Regions from separate parts of the Homo sapiens genome. Here region 1 is linked to region 2. The links are contacts of gene promoters, found by promoter capture Hi-C in blood cells and fetal thymus (Javierre and others, 2016). All regions are on one chromosome and are shown on one strand. Each heading gives the region's core, a stretch centred on a gene start or on the middle of the fragment in contact. The rest is flanking DNA. Distances are from core to core; before and after follow the strand shown.

Region 1 (2,700 bases), core at 191-2,690, 7.4 Mb before region 2:
CACAATTGAAATTAAATACTTGCTATATGTAATTATTTGTTTAATGTGTGTCTCCTTCACTAGGCCCTGGACTTCATGAAGGGCAAAAATAGTGTCTGGTTTATTCACTTTTTTATCCCAGCACAAGGGCACCTGGCACACGTAGTTGTTCAATAAATATTGAAATAATGCATAAAAGGAAGCAATCATGTATGTAAAGTACCTGGTACATTTAATAGTAGCAATAACATTTCTCAAAATCATGCAGTTGCTATTGATAAACTAGCTTATGTGATGTTATGGTATTTAAATCTATTTGATTTTCATTTTAAGGTGAAAATTGATTTGCAAGTGACCATGCCTCACAGCTACCCCTATGTAGCATTGCAGCTGTTTGGACGGTCATCTGAACTTGACAGACATCAGCAGCTACTTCTCAACAAAGGTCTCACTTCTTACATAGGGACTTTTGATCCAGGTGAGCTCTGTGTATGTGCAGCAATCCAGTGGCTACAGGACAACAGTGCATCTTATTTCCTGAACAGAAAGCTTGTATATGAACCATCTACACAAGCAAAGCCAGTCAAGAACACATTCCTCCGAATGTGGATCTACAGTCACCATATATATCAGCAGGACCTAAGGAAAAAGATTTTGGATGTTGGGAAAAGGTTAGATGTGACTGGATTTTGCATGACAGGAAAGCCTGGTATAATCTGTGTGGAGGGTTTCAAAGAGCACTGTGAGGAGTTCTGGCACACAATTAGGTACCCCAATTGGAAGCACATTTCCTGTAAGCATGCTGAAAGCGTGGAGACAGAAGGAAATGGTGAGGACCTGCGCCTTTTCCATTCTTTTGAAGAGTTACTCCTTGAGGCTCATGGTGACTATGGATTAAGGAATGACTATCACATGAATCTGGGCCAATTCTTAGAATTTCTCAAGAAGCACAAAAGTGAGCATGTTTTTCAGATACTATTTGGTATTGAAAGCAAAAGTTCAGACTCATAAAAAGCGATTAAGAGGCCTATGCCTGTAATTTCACTAAGTCAGTATTTCTGTTAATAAGACCAAATTAAAAAGGCTAGTGGCTGTGTAGCATCCTCAGTGCAAAACCCAGCTCCAGAATTTTCACCTGGTAACGAATTTCAACTGACAGTGAAATGAATAGGCCTTTAAACTTTATAACATTGCAATTGTGATGTTATCTCTAGGTTTTTGTGTGAAGTCATTCAAAAACTATTTCATTGTAAATTAATAAAAACAATCCATTTAACTTGTGAAGCTGATTTGATTGAAGAGGAATCCAAAGCCCATAACTAACATCAAAAATCAAACTGCAATTATGAATTGAGAAATATGAATAGCATTTGTTTCACATTGCTAGCACACATGTGACACACCCACTTGTCTTTCATTATTGGAAATCTAAATCAAGTTTAAAATGAGAACAGGAAGGACATGTTTACTTCCTTTTTTGAGACGGTGCGATCTCGGCTCACTGCATCCTCAGCTTCCCAGGTTCAAGCGATTCTCCTGCCTCAGCCTCCCAAGTAGCTGGGACTACAGGCGTGCGCCACCACGCCCAGCTAATTGTTATATTTTTAGTAGAGACAGGGTTTCATCATGTTGGCTAGGATGGTCTCAATCTCTTAACCTCGTGATCTGCCTGCCTCGGCCTTCCAAAGTGCTGGGATTACAGGTGTGAGCCACCGCGCCCAGCCCGTTTACTTCATTTCTTACTTTAAACTCCTATTTCGAGTGTTTTAGTAAAACTAGATCCTAATAGCAGTGGCAAAGGACTCATAGACATGAAGTCCCACGAGTTAAAAGATGACACACAATGCTATGTGTTCTGGCTGTTTATATCAGTTCATGATACTAGCAATCCTGATACCAGTATTAGTTTAATTCTTATCCAGAAAAGATAAACACATGGTTCCTTGTCTACAAAGTATTCGCCTGTTTCAATCCAACCTTTGCCTGTGTGCCAGTATGCATTACTATAAAGGGCAAGAGACTGTTGAGGGGACCAGTGTGGATATCTGCATCATTACCTTATTGGGAAAAAAAAAATCTAATTCTACAGTCCGATGATGTTACTGCCATCTCCTCTGAAAATTCCAAGCTCCACAGGCTTCACCAGGCTTTTCAAAATGAGAGTTTATTTTAATGATTAAAAACCGCTATTTAAGTAGCTCTTGCCAAGCCTTTTCATTACCAGGTCTCCATCCCTCCCCAAGTATTTCTGCGAGTCTCATGTGCTAAGAGATGTCTTGAGCAGCCTCTGCAGCTTTCCGTGTTTCTGTGGTCAGCTACTGCTGCCCTTTCCCGGGAGGCATTCCATTCTCCTACTGGGTCCTCTCAAGATGCCAAAGCTTGGTGCTGGGATTTAGGAACACATCCTGTTAGATGTCAGACAGTGCTGCTTGTGCTGGGGAGCCTACAGAACTTCTGATGAAACTACCATCTGGTTTTACCCTCTGTGCCGTGGATGCAGACGTGTCCTTGGGCTACAGAGAGGACATGATGGAGCAGGAGGCCCTATCCCAAGGAGGTGTTAGAACTGGGTCCACTTTGTACTGCCTCTTTCTTCTTAGGTCACAATGAGTGTCCTCTCAGGGCACAACTCAGATCTTCAACCCATGGCTCGCTGTAGGCCTGCCCCGCCAGGTCCTCCAGCTTGCCATTCATGTTTCCATCCTAGCCTTGGTTGTGCTG
Region 2 (2,700 bases), core at 195-2,694:
TTTTATAGTCATTAGAACCCAATTTACCTGTTAATTTGAAAAACGACGCTTTAAAGTCACTTTGAAATATCTTGTTCTAAAATAAATTACTGCAGAATAAAGAAAGGATATGGGTTTTCTGATAGCGATTTCTAGTCTAATATTATATTCTGATTGTCACCGAAATCATTCGTTATCTCTTCAGAATATGCTACTTGAAACATCTTTTGATCGTAGACCAGTCTATGTTACTTATGGTGAAATTCACCTACATTAGCCCAACTGAAAGCCGAGCATTTAAACATTACGAGTATTGCTGTGCGGTATCGGAGAAATTGAGAACCATTCGGTGCTAAGGGAAACACTTTATTAGACTTGATGATCTACTAATTTAACAAGCATTTATTGAGCATCCCCTACATGCCAGGTACTGAAGTAGAAGTCGAATATAATACAATCTTTGGCCATTAAGAACATTACGTCCGGCCGGGCCCGGTGGCTCACGCCTGTAATCCCAGCACTTTGGGAGGCCGAGGCGGGTGGATCATGAGGTCAGGAGATCGAGACCATCCTGGCTAACAAGGTGAAACCCCGTCTCTACTAAAAATACAAAAAATTAGCCAGGCGCGGTGGCGGGCGCCTGTAGTCCCAGCTACTCGGGAGGCTGAGGCAGGAGAATGGCGTGAACCCGGGAAGCGGAGCTTGCAGTGAGCCGAGATTGCGCCACTGCAGTCCGCAGTCCGGCCTGGGCGACAGAGCGAGACTCCGTCTCAAAAAAAAAAAAAAAAAAAAAAGAACATTACGTCCAGCGGACTGAAACTCCAGAACGGCTACGATCTTCGCTGAAACTACTACTTACAGATACGAGAACTGGTGGACCACACTATCTCACCAGTTCATTCTCCTGTTTATCACCGGAATATCAAATCCAAAATCAAGAGTACCCAAGAGAGGAAAAAAGGCAGCTACTCCCGAGCAGTTGAGCTCAGAGAGTAACCCCCACTCCCACGTTACTGAGGGCTGTGGGGTCTCCCGGGTGGACCCCGCAGGGTCCCGCGAATTAGAGGGGCCCCGGGAGGCACCTTCAGAGCCGGCACCAGGCAGAGGCGGGGGCGGGGCAGGCCGGGACCGGCGTCTCCATGCCGGGCCTCGCTCACCTCTTCCACCTCGATCTCCTTGTAGTCGATCTCTTCAAAGTTGAGGACCTGGGAAGGGGCTTCGATCATCTCACCGGCCGAAGACGAGGAGGAGGAGGAGGCGGCAGAGGCTGTAGACATGATCCCTCGCGGCGCCCGGTGGGGCCGGGAACGGTGCCACCCGGACAATCCGGGTGAGACCCGCGCCCACCCGCCTCCGGACCGACCCTCAGCCTGGAGCCGCGCAGTCCTACTACCCGGCGATCCGTGGCGGGGGTAGAGGCAGCGGCCACAGCCGTGTCCGGCTCTGGCTCCGCTGCGTTTTCCGCCGACGGGCCCCGCCCACTACACTTCCGGTTCCGGGCTGAAATCGGAAACAGGAGGAGGGCCGTAAACTCCGGGGTAGGGGAGGGGAGAATTTTGTGACTTGGAAAGAAAAGGAGGGACAGGTTGGGGGTGGGGTGGAGTAAGCTAAGAAGCAAACTTGGACCTCTAGAACAAATTTCGCGAGACCTTTATTACAGGGCCTCAGCAACCGGATGATACCGCGAGAGAGGACGCCTGACGTAATTAAAGTGCGCGAACGGAAGTGGCGCGGAACATGACGGAAAATCAGTACGGTTGGTCCCTTAAGGACCAGCGGGAAAGATAAAAGCTGGGGTTTAGTCTGTGCTGCGTGAAATATGTCTTGGCCTCACTTCCTGTCCTCTGAGCTGCCTGCAGCCGGGCGAGGTGGTGTTGAACTGTGTTTTTTGTGACGAAGCTTACTTTTAAGTTTCATCCCTAAACTAAGTTGACCTGTTTCTTTAAGACGGCTTGCAAAATGTGTTTTCCTCAATGTGGGATATGGAAAGAAGCAGTTGCTCCTGTTATTTTGAGCTAGTACCTGACGCTATGAGAAATTCTAAAAGAGCGAATCAGATCATGCAACATGAATAACTATGGAGGCTGAGTGATCAAGAACAGAAGTTAATATTTTGGTGTTACAAACTTTCCACGGATTAGGTGAATAAGATATTTATAATTTGGTGTGTTCATCTCAAGTTATGGATTACGAGTGCGGGGCACTAGTGCTTTAGATTGGTAAATGAATCATCAACAGTCGCCTTGAAAATCGAATATTTTTGTCACCATTTTCAGGACATGAGAAAACACGCTGAGAGTTTAAAGCAATTATGGTCCTCACAAACTAGATCATTCTGTCCCCAAGATGGTCAGTATTGCTCATGTTGTACTACCAGCACAAGTTTTAGTTTTAAACTAACTGTTGAATTTTATATAGTCCGTTTGACATAAAGCCTAACTGTGGAATTATGTTAAACACATTTGGGATTGCAAATAGATCATTGGATTTGACCATCAAGAAGTTACAAACTCCTGGGAAACATTCTGTCACTTTTTATTCGTAGTTCTAGTGACACGCAGTGACAGTTTGATGAGTGGATAAAAAAATGAAAGAAACGATAATTTCTTTTCACTGTACACTCTCTCTTTGCATGCTCTTACCCAAGGTCTCTGTTTCTCATACTATTTTTATAATGATGACTCCTAATCTCCAAATACTCAAGATTTTTCCTGAATTCTG

Evidence for each region. The method cuts DNA at HindIII sites, captures the fragments that hold promoters and counts their contacts. A CHiCAGO score of 5 or more calls a contact.
Region 1: a contact is called between a fragment that was not itself captured here and the fragment with the promoter of MAP3K7 in region 2, in 1 of 17 cell types (non-activated CD4 T cells). The highest score is 7.3, in non-activated CD4 T cells.

What each region holds. Positions count from the first base shown.
Region 1 is chr6:83,195,283-83,197,982 of GRCh38, forward strand. It overlaps RWDD2A (RWD domain containing 2A), which reads left to right. Exons shown (of 3, transcript NM_033411.5): 3 at 313-2,700. The coding sequence ends at 990. Among named protein-coding and RNA genes, the nearest start is that of RWDD2A, 3.3 kb to the left of the region's middle. The HindIII fragment of the contact is 1,829 bases long and covers 527-2,355 here.
Region 2 is chr6:90,585,628-90,588,327 of GRCh38, forward strand. MAP3K7 (mitogen-activated protein kinase kinase kinase 7) reads right to left here and starts at 1,445. Exons shown (of 17, transcript NM_145331.3): 1 at 1,137-1,445. The coding sequence starts at 1,256. It overlaps LOC124901363 (a long non-coding RNA gene), which reads left to right and starts at 1,167. Exons shown (of 2, transcript XR_007059680.1): 1 at 1,167-2,328. RefSeq lists silencers at 1,265-1,384, 1,381-1,577. The HindIII fragment of the contact is 2,842 bases long and covers 1-1,876 here.